Regions from separate parts of the Homo sapiens genome. Here region 1 is linked to region 2. Evidence: promoter capture Hi-C in human tissues and cell types (Jung and others, 2019). All regions are on one chromosome and are shown on one strand. The core of a region is centred on a gene start or on the middle of the fragment in contact, and the rest is flanking DNA. Distances in the headings are between cores, read along the strand shown. Region 1 has its middle 11 kb from the start of OSBP2. Region 2 holds the start of LIMK2 (LIM domain kinase 2).

Evidence for each region. Contacts are between HindIII fragments. The study calls those that stand out against the background at their distance.
Region 1: a fragment that was not itself captured here is called in contact with the fragment with the promoter of LIMK2 in region 2 in 1 of the 25 tissues and cell types used here (dorsolateral prefrontal cortex).

What each region holds. Positions count from the first base shown.
Region 1 is chr22:30,680,031-30,686,799 of GRCh38, forward strand. No RefSeq gene overlaps it. Among named protein-coding and RNA genes, the nearest start is that of OSBP2, 11 kb to the right of the region's middle. The HindIII fragment of the contact is 9,026 bases long and covers 1-6,500 here.
Region 2 is chr22:31,209,867-31,216,991 of GRCh38, forward strand. It overlaps LIMK2 (LIM domain kinase 2), which reads left to right and starts at 2,432. Exons shown (of 16, transcript NM_005569.4): 1 at 2,432-2,558. The coding sequence starts at 2,543. RefSeq lists enhancers at 1,973-2,152, 3,115-4,040 and a silencer at 2,133-2,532. The HindIII fragment of the contact is 2,868 bases long and covers 855-3,722 here.

The DNA.
Region 1 (6,769 bases), core at 738-3,237, 530 kb before region 2:
GCTTCTGAGTCCCCACACCCGTCTTCACACAGAGTGCTTAGTGCACAACATCATTTGTTTGCACACTGTCGCTCCAATCAGGTTGTAAATATCTTTTTTTTTTTTTTTTGACAGAGTCTTGCTCTGTCGCCAGGCTGGAATGCAGTGGTGCTCACTGCAACCTCCACCTCCCAGGTTCAAGCAATTCTCCTGCCTCAGCCTCCCGAACAGCTGGGACTACAGGCACGTGCCACCACACCCAGCTAACTTTTGTATTTTTAGTAGAGACAGGGTTTCACCATGTTGGCCAGGATGGTCTCAATCTCTTGACCTCGTGATCTGCCCACTTTGGCCTCCCAAACTGCTGGGATTACAGGTGTGAGCCACCGCACCCAGCCGAGATGAGGTTTTATTATGTTGGCCAGGCTGGTCTTAAACTCCTGACCTCAGGTGATCCACCCACCTTGGCTTCTTGAAGTGCTGCGATTACAGGCGTGAGCCGCTGTGCCACCTGGTCTGGTTATAAATGTCTTGATGGCAGCGATGCTGACTTACTCATCCCTGCAATCACAATGCCTAGTAAATGGGGTAGTCACTCAGTGTTTTTTTTTTTTTCTCTTTGAGTCAGGAGTCTTGCTCTGTTGCCCAGGCTGGAGTGCAGTGGTACAATCTCAGCTCACTGCAACCCCTGCCTCCCAGGTTCAAATGATTTTCGTGCCTCAGCTTCCTGAGTAGCTAGGATTACAGGCATGTGCCACCACACCTCACTAATTTTTATATTTTTAGTAGAGATGGGGTTTCGCCACGTTGGCCAGACTGGTCTCAAATTCCTGACCTCAGGTGATCCTCCCATCTTGACCTCCCAAACTGCTGGGATTACAGGTGTGAGCCACGTGCCTGGCCAGCAAAGTCATTTAATTCTTGGGGACCCCTAGCAGGAACAAGAAACAGGAACACTTTCCAGCCTAGCCCTTTGTTAAATTAGGAAGTGTTACTCTGGCTATTAGAATTCTGGGCCTGGTCCAGCAGCTGACTTTGAAAGTTTGCAGGCCTATGAGGGACAGAGCCAGGGGCAGGCCTTGGACTGGGACCTCCTGTCTCCCCCAGTAATGTCTCTCTGGGCTTCAGCTCTCCCACTTGCTCTTCAGGGACAGTGGGGCTGGTGGGTGGTTTCTGCACTTCCTTCCATTTCTCAGATCCTGAGATGTGGCAACAGAGCTTTGCACACATAATGCTTCACAAACATCTGCTGAGTGGAAAGGAACAAATCCTGCTCTGAGCAAAGCCAGAAAATCCAGGCTTATCAAAAATGATCACTCAGGGAGAGTTTTACTTGACTAATGTGTTTATCACTTTACAAAGTGACTCCCAGTGGTATTCCTTATCCAGTCTGCTCATCCAGCAGCATTTTCAAAGCTTCTGCCCCAAGCCACTGTCATTCAAATGCACCTCCCCACTGGGTCAAGTTGGGTCTCCCAGCTAATGGAAGTTCCCCTGTACAGGAGCTTGGCCAGGCACAGTGTTTCATGCCAGTAATCCCAGCACTTTGGGAGGTCCAGGTGGGAGGATCACTTGAGGCTAGTAGTTTGGGACTAGCCTGGGCAATATAGCGAGACCCTGTCTCTACAAAAAATAAAATGAAAAATCACCCTGATGTGGTGGCATGTGCCTTTACTCCCAGCTACTTGGGAAGCTGAGGTGGGAGGATCTCTTGAGCCCAGGAGGTCAAGGCTGCAGTGAGCCAAGATTGAACCACTGCACTTCAACCTGGTGAGAGCAAAACCCTATCTCAAAATAAAATAAAATAAATCTCCCTATGGTTAAAAAACACTCATCTTCCACTTTATCCAGCATGTGTTTATTTATTAATAGCTCCTCATATGTACCAGGCACTCTTGTAGGTGCTAGAAATCATCAGTGAACAAAACTGACTCAAATCCTCTGCTTCCATGGAGATTGTATTTGAATAGTCTCAGGGGTGGCAGAGTAGGAAGAAAAGCAATCAGGTGAAACCGCTGGCTGCTGGAGTCTGATGCCTCTGGCTGAATGCAGGATGCCTCCTTTGGGCTTTATGGGGAGAACCTGGTTTACGCAGTCTTTTCTCTGTGCAATTCTTTGGCCTCTGGAAATGCTGTCCACAGGACTGGAAGGCTGTGTGTGTCCCTCCCTGCTGCAGTGAGGCTTCCTTTATCTGATGTGCATGGCCTCTGAAGTCAGATGGCTCTATTTGGAATCTCAGCTCTGCCTTGCACAAGAAAGTCATTTTGCCCCTCGGAGCTTCACCTTCCTCATCTGGAAACTGGGAATAATTGTAGTACCTACTTCATAGGCTTGCTCTGAGAACCCAGTGAGCTTGACAAGAACCTAGCCCAAGACCTGTCGTCTCACGGGTGAATGGGAAGGGGGTTGTGTCGGCAACTGTAATTGTGCTGTACTTGGAGTTGACACATACAATTCAAGAGGCAGCCTGGTGCTGGGGAGTGGGCCTCGGAATAATAATCTAGAGGTGGGAGTTCGGCTTCTATGACTCCTCAGTTTGCTCTGAGACCCTGGGTAACATATATCCCCCACCTTTTTTTTTTTTTTTTTTTTGAGACGAAGTTTCGCTCTTGTTGCCCAGGCTGTACTGCAATGGCACGATCTTGGCTTACTGCAACCTCCCACTCCCAGGTTCAAGCGATTCTCCTGCCTCAGCCTCCTGGGTAGCTGGGATTACAGGCACCCACCACCACGCCTGGCTAATTTTTTGTTTTGTTTTGTTTTGTTTTTGTATTTTTAGTAGAGATGGGGTTTCACCATGTTGGCAGGCTGGTCTTGAACTCCTGACCTCAGGTGATCCACCTGCCTCGGCCTCCCAAAGTGCTGGGATTATAGGCATGTGCCACCGTGCTTGGCCCTTAAATGCCTTTTCTGAGGATTGGTGATCTACTCTCTTCCCTCATATTCAGTTAATCCTTTAGGAGAAAGAAATTGGGCTGAGACAGATCCATATCCTCCAGGGGGCCTTGGAGCACCCCAAGCCAGCATGTGCCTGTTGGGAACCTGGTGGGGAGCAATGGTTGGTCACTGGGGCTCCAACCAAGCCCTCCCCAGGTACTTCTCGGGGACTGAGTGCACTTGCTCCACAAGAATGAAATGGTCACCAGGAAGAATTTTGGTCACCAAAGAATCCTTAGCTTTGTCATATTAGAGGGCTGGGAGGGCCTGATCCCCTGGAACCTGCCTTTCCAACCTGATTTCCCATACTTCTTCCCATAAGCCAGATCCCATGATTTCTCTCATTTCTCCAAACAGGCCTCTTGATTTTCCACCTTGGAACTAACTTTCTTCCTCCCTTCCTCCCTCCCTCTCTTCCTTCCTTTCTTGCTTTTGTTCTTCCTTTCTTCCATTCTTTCTTCTCTCCTTCCTTTAACCCCATCCCTCCCTCATCCCCTCCAATCCCCTCCCCTTCCTTCCATCGCCCAGGCTGGAGTACACTGGCGTGATCATAGCTTACCACAGACTCGAACTCCTGGCCTCAAGTGACCCTCCCACCTCAGCCTCCCAAGTAGCTAGGACTATAGGCATGTGCCACCAAGCCCCACTAATTTTTTTACTTCTTGTAGAGACGAGGGTCTCGTTGTGTTGCCCAGGCTGGTCTTGAGCTCCTGGCCTTAAGAAATCCTCCTGCCTGGGCCTCCCAAAATGCTGGGAATACAGGTGTGCACTGCTATGCCTGGCCCACCTCAGAACTTTTGATTCTACTGTTCACCCTGCAAGGAATATAGACTTACCCTCATTTCTACCTGAGGAAAGTCAGCTCAGACCCTTCGGGGCCTGCCCTGACATGAGCTCTGCCTTCCTAGACTAGACTCTGTCCGTCTCCCATCAGATAGGGAGCTTCCACCAGGCAGGGGCTGGACATGTTAGGAAAAGAGAGGCTTGGATGGATAACTTTTCTTTGTAAAAATTGCATTATGCGGAACCAACCATATTCTCTGGAGCTCTCAGGTAATTTCTATGGCAGTCCCCCTGACTCCACATTGCTTTGGAGATTCTGTATACTTTACTAAGGAATCACTGACTCCTCTGAAAGGTTTTCAAATAAAACCTGTCACTATCACTCTAAGCAGAGGTCACTAATTACTAGTCCTCCTGGGGCCAATAGTGGGGCGTTGATTTGATCAAACACTATGCTTCTCATAGTGATGAATTTAAGTACTTTGGATGTAGTATGCAAGCTGCAGTTAGCTGAAGCTCCCACCACTGCCATCTTCCTAAATCCAAGTGCATTTAATCTCCCTGGTACCTGAAGGCATGTGAGTTTGTGATCACTCCAAAGTGTTAGAACAGGGTCAGATGTGGTGGCTCACGCCTATAATCCCAGCACTTTGAGAGGCCGAGGCAGGCAGATCACGAGGTCAGGAGATCGAGACCATCCTGGCTAACGTGGTGAAACCCCGTCTCTACTAAAAATACAAAAAATTAGCCGGGCGTAGTGGCACGTACCTGTACTCCCAGCTACTCAGGAGGCTGAGGCAGGAGAATCTCTTGAACCTGGGAGGTGGCGGTTGCAGTGAGCCCAGATCACGCCACTGCACTCCAGCCTGGGTGACAGAGTGAGACTTTGTCTTAAATAAATAAATAAATAAATAAAGTTAAATTAGGCTGGGTGCGGTGGCTCATGCCTGTAATCCTAGCACTTTTGGAGGCCGAGGCAGGCACTTCACGAAGTCAAGAGATCAAGACCATCCTGGCCAACATGGTGAAACCCCATCTCTACTAAAAATACAAAAAAATTAGCTGGGTATGGTGGCGGGCACCTGTAGTCCCAGCTACTCAGAAGGCTGAGGCAGGAGGATTGCCTGAACCTGGCAGGCAGAGGTTTCAGTGAGCTGAGATCACGCCACTGCACTCCAGCCTGGTGACAGAGCAAGACTCCGTCTCAAAAAAAAAAAAAAAAAAAAAAAAAAAATTTAAAGGATTTTTTCCAGCCTATAGCCAGAAAGTGACAGACCTGGGATTTGAAACTTCCAGACTTGTGCCTTTAGCTGCATGCTGCCCTCACTCCCACTTGGGTTCAGTTCTGAAGCAGGGTATGGCTCAAGCCACTCCAGACCTTTCCTGAATAAAATGAGACACACATCAGCATCTACTTTTGTATCTGTGGCCACAAGCTCATAAGAGACTCTGTCTGGATTTTGGAATGAAGACCAGATGGCAGCTGGGAGACCTGGGTTTTTATCCAGTCAGTGATGTGACCTTGGACTCGGGCAGAGGGGGACAGTGATATTTGCTATCTCACAAGGCTAACCTCAGGTGGAAGTGATGGCTTGTAAGCAGTTCTGCAAAACAAGGATGACCAGCTACTCCAGAGCCTTCCAGCCCAAGGGGACTTTGCTCCTTGCCATCTTTTAGCGTTTCCTTCTCCTGAGCCTCTCAGGGACAGTCTGGCAGGGTTTGTTTTGGGTGGGCAGGCACCTTGGGGTTGGAGGCTCAGGTTTATATTCTTTTACTGCACAGGTGAGCAGGTTTTCGGACTAGAGAACCTTCTGTTTGAATCTTGGCTCCCCATTTGCGCGTGCGCGTGTGTGTGTGTGTGTGTCTGGGCAGGCGTCTTTAGCTTTGTGAGCCTTGATTTCTTCTTGCATAAACATAGGGATTATGAAACCAATCTTACAGGGTTGTTTTAAGGGTGGGAAGTGATGTATACAAAAGGCCTAACATTTGTAAAACAGAAGCATTTTATAGTAATTTTCTTTTTTTCTTTTCTTTCCTTTTCTTTTCTTTTTTTTTTTTTTTTTGAGATGGAGTTTCGCTCTTGTTGCCCAGGCTGGAATGCAGTGGCACGATCTTGGCTCACTACAACCTCCACCTCCGGGGTTCAAGTGATTCTCTCTCCTTAGCCTCCTGAGTAGCTGGGATTACAGGCGCGCACCACCACATGCAGCTAATTTTTTGTATTTTTACTAGAGATGGGGTTTCATCATGTTGGCCAGGCTGGTCTCAAACTCCTGATCTCAGGTGATCTACCTGCCTCAGCCTCTCAAAGTGCAGGGATTACAGGTGTGAGCCACCTCGCCCGGCCACTAATTTTCTGTTTTTCCTTGTTGTTTGTTTGTTTTTGAGACCGAGTCTTGCTCTGTCACCCAGGCTGGAGTGCAGTGGTGGGACCTCAGCTCACTGCAACCCCTACCTCCCGCATTCAAGTGATCCTCTCACCTCAGTCTCCCAAGTAGCTGGGACTACAGGTGTGCGCCACCATACCTGGCTAAGTTTTGTATTTTTAGTAGAGACAGGGTTTCACCATGTTGGCCAGGCTGTTTACCATGTTGGCCTGGCCCGGAAACTTCATCTTTAAACAAAACAATGTATCATAAAACCAATTTTGCCATAGGCTAATTGATATAAACAAGAGCTAAGTTCTTATTGCTTATTTCTTGCCACAAAACAGCACCAAACTTCTAAATAAAGATCCAAAACATTTCTAATATTAAATATTGAAATAAATGTGAACTATATATATGCTTAAGAAACATGAATAAAAAACAAGTAAGGTAATTATTTACCCGCTTATTCCAGTTGAGGTTTGTGAGTGGCCGGAGCCTATCGCAGCAGCTCAGGGCACAAGGCAGAAGCCAACCCTGGACAAGATGCCATTCCATGGCAGAGCACACATATTCACATTCACTCAGACCGGGACCATTTAGACACACCAATGAACCTAATACACATGTCTTTGGGATGTGGGAAGAAACCAGATTACCTGGAGAAAACCCACACAGACCTGGGGAGAACATGCAAACTCCAC
Region 2 (7,125 bases), core at 1,182-3,681:
CAGGAAAAAGCAGAGTCCTGGAGTGAAGGGAATAGGGAGACAAGTCCGCAGGGTGAGATGTAGTCAGCTCATGAGGACTGGTTTGGCTTTTATTTTGTAGGCAGTGGGGTGCTGTTGAAGGGTTTTGAACAGAGAGATGACAGGTCCAGAAACATACTTTTGGAAGATTAACACAGTCAGTTTTGGGTAGGATGATTCAGGGAGGGCAGAGACTGGCTCAGTTTGAAGCAAGTGGAAGTGACACTGGGCAAGTCTGGTTGGGTACCAGTGGACCAGTACCTTCAAGAGGGCAGAACCTTGAGTTGTTTTTCAAGGTCCAGGTTTCAGGATCCTAGGCTCAGAGAGTTGACTGTGAGGCGGCTGGCAGGATCTGGCCCTAGGGACTGACCAAGCTATGGCCAGTGAAACAAACTGTGGACAGGTAACCTGGGTGCTATTGAAACTCAGTTGGTCTACTCCCTGCCCAGGCTTTCTCTACCCTCCAGAAGTCCCCCTTGAGTTCACAAGTGATTTCTGGAATGTTCTTTGGGTCCATATTAAAAATATATCTCTTGGCTATAGCATTTCTATAGAAAGCTATTCCCTTCCATTACATTTTCAACTTGTGTTTCTCAGAGTCGCCTGAACTTCCCTGGGAGGAACTTGGGGGACTTGGCTATTCCCCAGCTCCCTGCTGGTGAAGACCATGAGGCTGGAGGTAGGAGGAAGTGGAATGTGAGAGAGAATGAGGAGGGAGAAGAGATAGACCTGGGTGCCTTGGTGTGGAACGGAGGGAGAGGGAAGACACCCAGGAGGTTTTGGTTCCCAGGATGCCAGTGCTTTGTTGCCTGGGAAAATACAGTGTTACATCTTTCTGTAGGAAGGATGGGGAAAGTCCCTGTCCCCTGTTTGCTAGCCATGAGGCAGCTTGTCAGGAGAGTCTCTGGATTCCTGTCACTTTAATTCAATACACAATCTTGTGTTTACTATAATGATTTCCTCAGAAACTACAAAACTGAGTACTGAAAAGAGTTCCCAGGAATTAACGGAAATGGGACAGAGCCCTCCTCCCCAGCACTTTGTGCACACTCAGGACATCGTGAGCCACCTGCCACACCCAGAAGAGAAAAATCTGACCGGCATCCGGTTTGAATTAGAGCAGGAAGGAAGAGAATTGTGCTCGCCTTTGTCTTTGCCTTTGCCTTTGCTTACCCAACTGCTGGGACCAGAGGCAGCTGGGTTGAACTTTGTCTTTGGTCAGGGGTGGGGGTGGAGGGGACAGAATCCATTTCCCTGGGCTCCATCCTCTTTCTGGTCATTTGGACATGTTTCCTGTGATCTAAATCTGATGTAAGGAAATGACAATTGTGAAAGACCCAGCGTGAGAGAATCTGATGGGAGGGTGGGTCATCAGGGACCAGCTGGCCTGGCTGATGATGTATTAATATCTTAATCACACAGAGGACCCCAATCTCCTTCCAAACCTAATGAGCGGAAGTGGTTCTCAAAGCTACTCAGCCAGCTAGCAGCTGCCATAACCCAGTCAGCTGTCCTAACTCTTAGTCCTGTAATCCCTCCTCCTCATAGAAGATTGTAAACTGGCAGCCCACAGGGCAAATCTAGTGGCCAGGTGTGTTTCATTTGGTCTACATGGCATTTTAAGAACTTTTTGATGCTATCAACATTTTTTAAAAGTGGCAAATTTCACCTAAATATCTGGATTTTTGGCATGTTTTGAAAGGTTGGAAGACCTGGGAATGGTAGGCCCATGTTCCTGCAGGGGAGTGCTCGTCTTCCAATGCGGCGCACAAGCTCCAGCGTCCTGCGCTAAACCTAATTGGCCTGGCTGAGGATCTGCTCCTGGAATGCTGGTTGGTCGCCTCCAACTGTCTTTGACTTAGAGATTATTTACTGTCAGCTTACTCATAGTGGCGCAGAGAAGTGGTTTCTCTGAGCTAGAAGCTTCTAAGAAAAGTCCATCCTCAAAGCTGTTTGTGGGATAGACCTGGCTCCTCCATTGTAATATTCCTGATTCCAAACACTACTGGAAAGAGCTCTGAACTGGCAGTTAGCAGGCCTGGGCTCCCATCCCGGCTCTCCTCCTAATGAGCGAAGCCATTTCAATGTAGTCGAACTTAGCCTCTGATCCTTAACTTTCCCTATCTGTAAATGAGGGCGACTAGATGGGTGCGGACTGTCATCCGTGTTGAGACTTCCGGCCCCCGCAGAATCAACCTTACCGGCGGGAGCACCTCGAGGGGACGCCGCTCGCACTAGGGGGCGCCAGGGCCGCTGCAGAGCCCGAGCCAGAGCCAGGGGGCGGGGCCGCGTCTCGGGAGCGAGGCCTGAGAGCGGCGGGGCGGGGCGTCGGCGGGCAGTCCCCTGTGCCAGGTGTGGTTTGGTCCTCCCAGGGCGCCGTAGGCGGTGCATCCCGTTCGCGCCTGGGGCTGTGGTCTTCCCGCGCCTGAGGCGGCGGCGGCAGGAGCTGAGGGGAGTTGTAGGGAACTGAGGGGAGCTGCTGTGTCCCCCGCCTCCTCCTCCCCATTTCCGCGCTCCCGGGACCATGTCCGCGCTGGCGGGTAAGGAAGGGCTGCTCCGCCCTGTCCCGCTGTTATCTCCGAAGTCCGGTTCCATGGCGCCTGAGGGAAACCGGCTGTCTCTCGGGGGTTTCGGGCTGGTTGGGTCCTCGTGGGTCCGAGCTCCTCAGAAAAGCTGGGAGGCGGGGTGGGCACAGCGCTCCCCAGGCATTTGGAGGGTGGGACTCCGGGAATGGGGAGGCAGGGCATCCTGGAGACAGAGGGCTCCGAGGGGCAGGCGGGTTGGGAGGCTTCCCGCGAGTTGAGGTCCCGGGGAGGAAGAGATTCTGGGTCTGCCAGGAATCCAGCTTTTTGGAGGGACCTGGCGGCCGCAGACCCCCAAATTAACCCTTTTTAAGGAAGTTGAAAAGCATGGGGTTCTCTTATAGTGGAAGCTCTGTGGAATTTGAGGAGTACAGGATCCTCTAGGGTTCAGGACAATTAGGAGAGTTACCCCGGGTTCTGGGTTTTCTGAGGGAAATGGAGGATGTGACTTCCCTGCCAAGACCCAAGGCTTCTCGCGGGCATCTTGGTGTCTGGGAGTCCCCCGGGGCTGGGAGCTCTTTGCAGAAAATAAGGGAGTATGGAGCCCCTTGAGGTTTAGGACAGGACTAAGGGTAAGGAGAGATCGGACCATTCTTTTTGGGGCCCAAAGATCTCTGCTACAGGTGGCGAAAGTAGGCCACCTGGGGTTCTGAGTCCTCCTGTGGAAGCTCCCTTGGCCTCTCTAGACTAAAGACTAGAGGGATTCGGCCAAACACCTCCTGGAAGGAAGAGTTGTCTAAGGGTGAAGGGTAGCTTCAGAGTTGGGTTAGTTGCACCTGCAGTCACCTCCCCGCCACCTCACACACCACCCTGCAGCTTCCTGCCTTCCCCATCTTTTCCCCCAGCAGTAGGAACCTTCTGTCTCCTATGTTTCCCAGCCACCTGTGTGGGTGGCCCACCTCTGGGTCCACCAGGGTCAGCGTCCAGAAGCTTTGGAGAGGCGGCAAGAGGGTATTGAGGTGGAGGGGGGCTGGCTATCTGCCCCCTGCTTCCTGGCTTTCCGTCTGTGGACAGTCACTTCCTTCATCTTGAATGCAAGGACTGGGCTACCAGTGGGTCACTTCCTCAGCAAGGGAGCATGGGATTTTCTCTTCACTGGTGATAACAGACTTCTGGAGAGAGCTAGGGGTGGAAATGCCTAAAACAAATTTTTTTAGGCTGGGCGTGGTGGCTCATGCCTGTAATCCCAGCACTTTGGGAGGGCAGGGCAGGAGGATCGCTTGAGTCCAGGAGTTTGAGACCAGCTTGGGCAATATAGCGAGACTTCATCTCTTAAAAACAAAACCTTGTCTCTTAAAAAAGATTTTTTTTAAGCTTACAGAGTCCTTCAACTCGAATGATTTCCAGTAACTTTTTTTTTTTTTTCTTAGATGGAGTCTTGCTCTGTCGCCCAGGCTGGGGTGCAGTGGCACAATCTTGGCTCATTGCAACCTCTGCCTCCCGGGTTCAAGCGATTCTCCTACCTCAGCCTCCCGAGTAGCTGGGACAACAGGGGCCCGCCACCACGCCCGGCTAATTTTTTTGGTATATTTAGTAGAGATGGGGTTTCACCATATTGGCCAGGCTGGTCTTGAACTCCTGACCTTGTGATCCGCCCGCTTCGGCCTCCCAAAGTGCTGGGATTACAGGCGTGAGCCACCGCACCCGGCCGATTTCCAGTAACTTTTTCTAACAGCTGTGTAATATAGGTTGCCTGTCTTGAACCCTGTTTCTTAGAAAATTGTGAAAGGTTTCACAGTACAATAGTCTAGAGGCATAAAGCCTCTAGATGCATTAGTTTATGCATTCTTTCTTTCATTCAAAGAATATTTGTTGGATTCTTCTGTGTCATATACTTAGCCAAATGCTGAGTACAGTGGTGACATAGTTCTTGGCTTTGTGGTGCTTAATAATCCTAGAGATGGACAATAAATAATTGTAACAATTGCAATAAATGCTATAATAGTTAAGGTAAACAATTGAGATAAGTGCTGTAAGAGTGCACCAGGGGTGAGGGTTTTCTCTACTTTTTTTTCTGTTTTGGTAGAGACAGGGTCTCACTATGTTGCCCACGGTGGTTTCAAGCCATCCTCCTGTCTCAACCTCCCAAAGTGCTGGGATTACAGGCATGAACCACCATGCCCATCCTCTACTTTTTTTTTTTTTGAAGGGAATACTTTTCTTAAAAATGCAAGTTTATGCTGACCCCTGGAGATAAGTAAAAGTTAGCCTGGCAAAAAAAGCTCACAGAGCATTCCAGGCAGAGGAAACAGCATAAAAAGGCCCTAGGGTAGGAAGGCATGTAGTGCCTTTGAGCCTTGGAGCTGGGAGGTCAATATGGTTTTTTGATTTTTTTGTAGGGGGTGGGGAGGAAGAGTCTTGCTCTGTTGCCCATGCTGGAGTACAGTGGCGCGATCCAGACTCACTGTACCCTCCACCTCCCAGGTTCAAGTGAATCTTCTGCCTCAGCTTCCTGAGTAGCTGGGACTACAGGCAAGTGCTACCACGCCCAGCTAATTTTTTGTATTTTTATTAGAGACGGGGTCTTACCATGTTGCCCAGGCTGGTCTCAAACTCCTGAGCTCAGGCAGTCCACCCGCCTTGGACTCCCAAAATGCTAGGATTATAGGCGTGAGCCACCATGCCCAGCCAAGTATGGCTTTTTTATAGATGAGGAGACAGGCCCAGAAATGACAAGGTTCCATAGCTAAATGAGCAGTGGTGGTCAGAGTTCATATTTTCCAACTTCAAGTTTAGTGCTTCCTCCTCTCTGTAGCACAAAAAGCAGAATGAAGTTGACTATGGAGTCTGAGAAGGAAGTGGGACTTAAACTTTCACTTGTTATTCCATTCAAACCATGTTCTGAGACACCTCAGATTCCTCGTGTAACCGGAGAATCGATAACAAATCAAATATTTACTGAGTGCCTGTGATGTCTGTGGCACTGGGCAGGACCAAGTTTTACCTCTTATAAATTTTAACAGGTGTTAGAGCCAGGAGAGAGTTTTGAGATAATGTATAGTCTCCTTGTTTTACCTATGAAGAAACTGAGGCTCAGGGAAAAAAAACGGAGTTGTCCAGGGTCACTCAACTAGTGGTAGAGCCAGAACCAAGGTAAGACTTCTGCAGTGTTCTTTCCAGTATTCCAGGCTGCTTAAGACGTACAGGGTCTGGCACATGGTAAGCCCTTAATAAGTATTTGTGGAAATGAGTTATATATAGTTTGTGCCTCTGAGAAACTTACTGTCTAGTTAAGGTAATTAAGGCAAAAAACAAAACTGCCATGCTGATCAGTAGTGGGATTGCGCCTGTGAAAAGCCACCGCACTCCAGCCTGGGCTACATAGCAAGATCCCCATCTCTTAAAAAAAAGAAAAAAATTGATAAGACAAGCTGTTATAAGGCTTGCGTATGATAACATTATAGAATTTCAAAGATGAGGGAGAATTCTCTTCAAACATTTATTCCACAAATATATATTGAGTTCCTGCTATGTGCTAAACTCTTTTGGCCCCTAGGGATACAGCAAGGAACAAGATAGACCAAATCCCTTCCCTCATGTAGTGTATGTTCTGGTGGGGAGAGATAGACAGCAAGTAAATGTATGAACATCATATTCAGGGATAAATCCATTGAAGAGAAGTGAAGTAGGGTAAGGGGATAGAAGAAGTGAGTTGTCAGGGAATGTGTTTGGCATGTTTAAAGAATAGCAGGGTATCCAGGGTGGCCATCAGTTTTGGTTAGGGAATACTTCTTGAAGTGGGTAAGACTTGAGAAATCTTAAATAGGCTTAAAGAAGGTGGGGAAGATGATATCTTAGTAGGGAAGAAACTTTGGGAGTAGGAGACAAAAGTAGGCAAGTTTCAGGTCTTCATAAAGGGTAGCAAATACGTGTGGTAGAGGCAAGGATTGGGAGGTGGAAGATTCATAGGAAGTGGAAGGTACAGCTGAGAATGTGGGTGCAACCGGACTAGAGGGTTTAATGCCAGGCTGAGGATTTTGGAAGTTTCTAGTCTACAGTAGGCACCGTAGGTTTAGAGAAAGGAAGACTCATGATGTGGGCACAGGGCCACCAATCTGGAGGTGGGTATAGTGGGCCCTGAGATGAGGTCTTAGTGGTAGCAATGAAGAAGGCACCAACCAATAAAAGATGCCTCCTGACATAGGCAGGCCAGGGTGACTTGGATGGTCCTGGATATGTGATGGAGCAGGGTAGGGTCCAAAATGACCACAAGATTTCAAAACTAAATAAAAATCCGTCATGATCAAGGGGCTGTATTAGGCTTTCCACATTCATGGTGGATTTTCTGCATCTTCTGGAGGCTGAGCTGATTCCCAGAACAGGGCTGCCTTCTTGTTAGTGTAACCTTGAGCGGGTCTGATAGGGCCCACCATCACACACATCTCATTTCAATGAGAGGACCTGAAACTGTAGCAGTCTCTTACAAGTCTACCTTCTTTCTCATCCTTTATCTATTTTTATATAGTAGAAAGAATTAGACTATTTTACCTATTAATTTACATTGAATAGTAACTAGAACATGAAA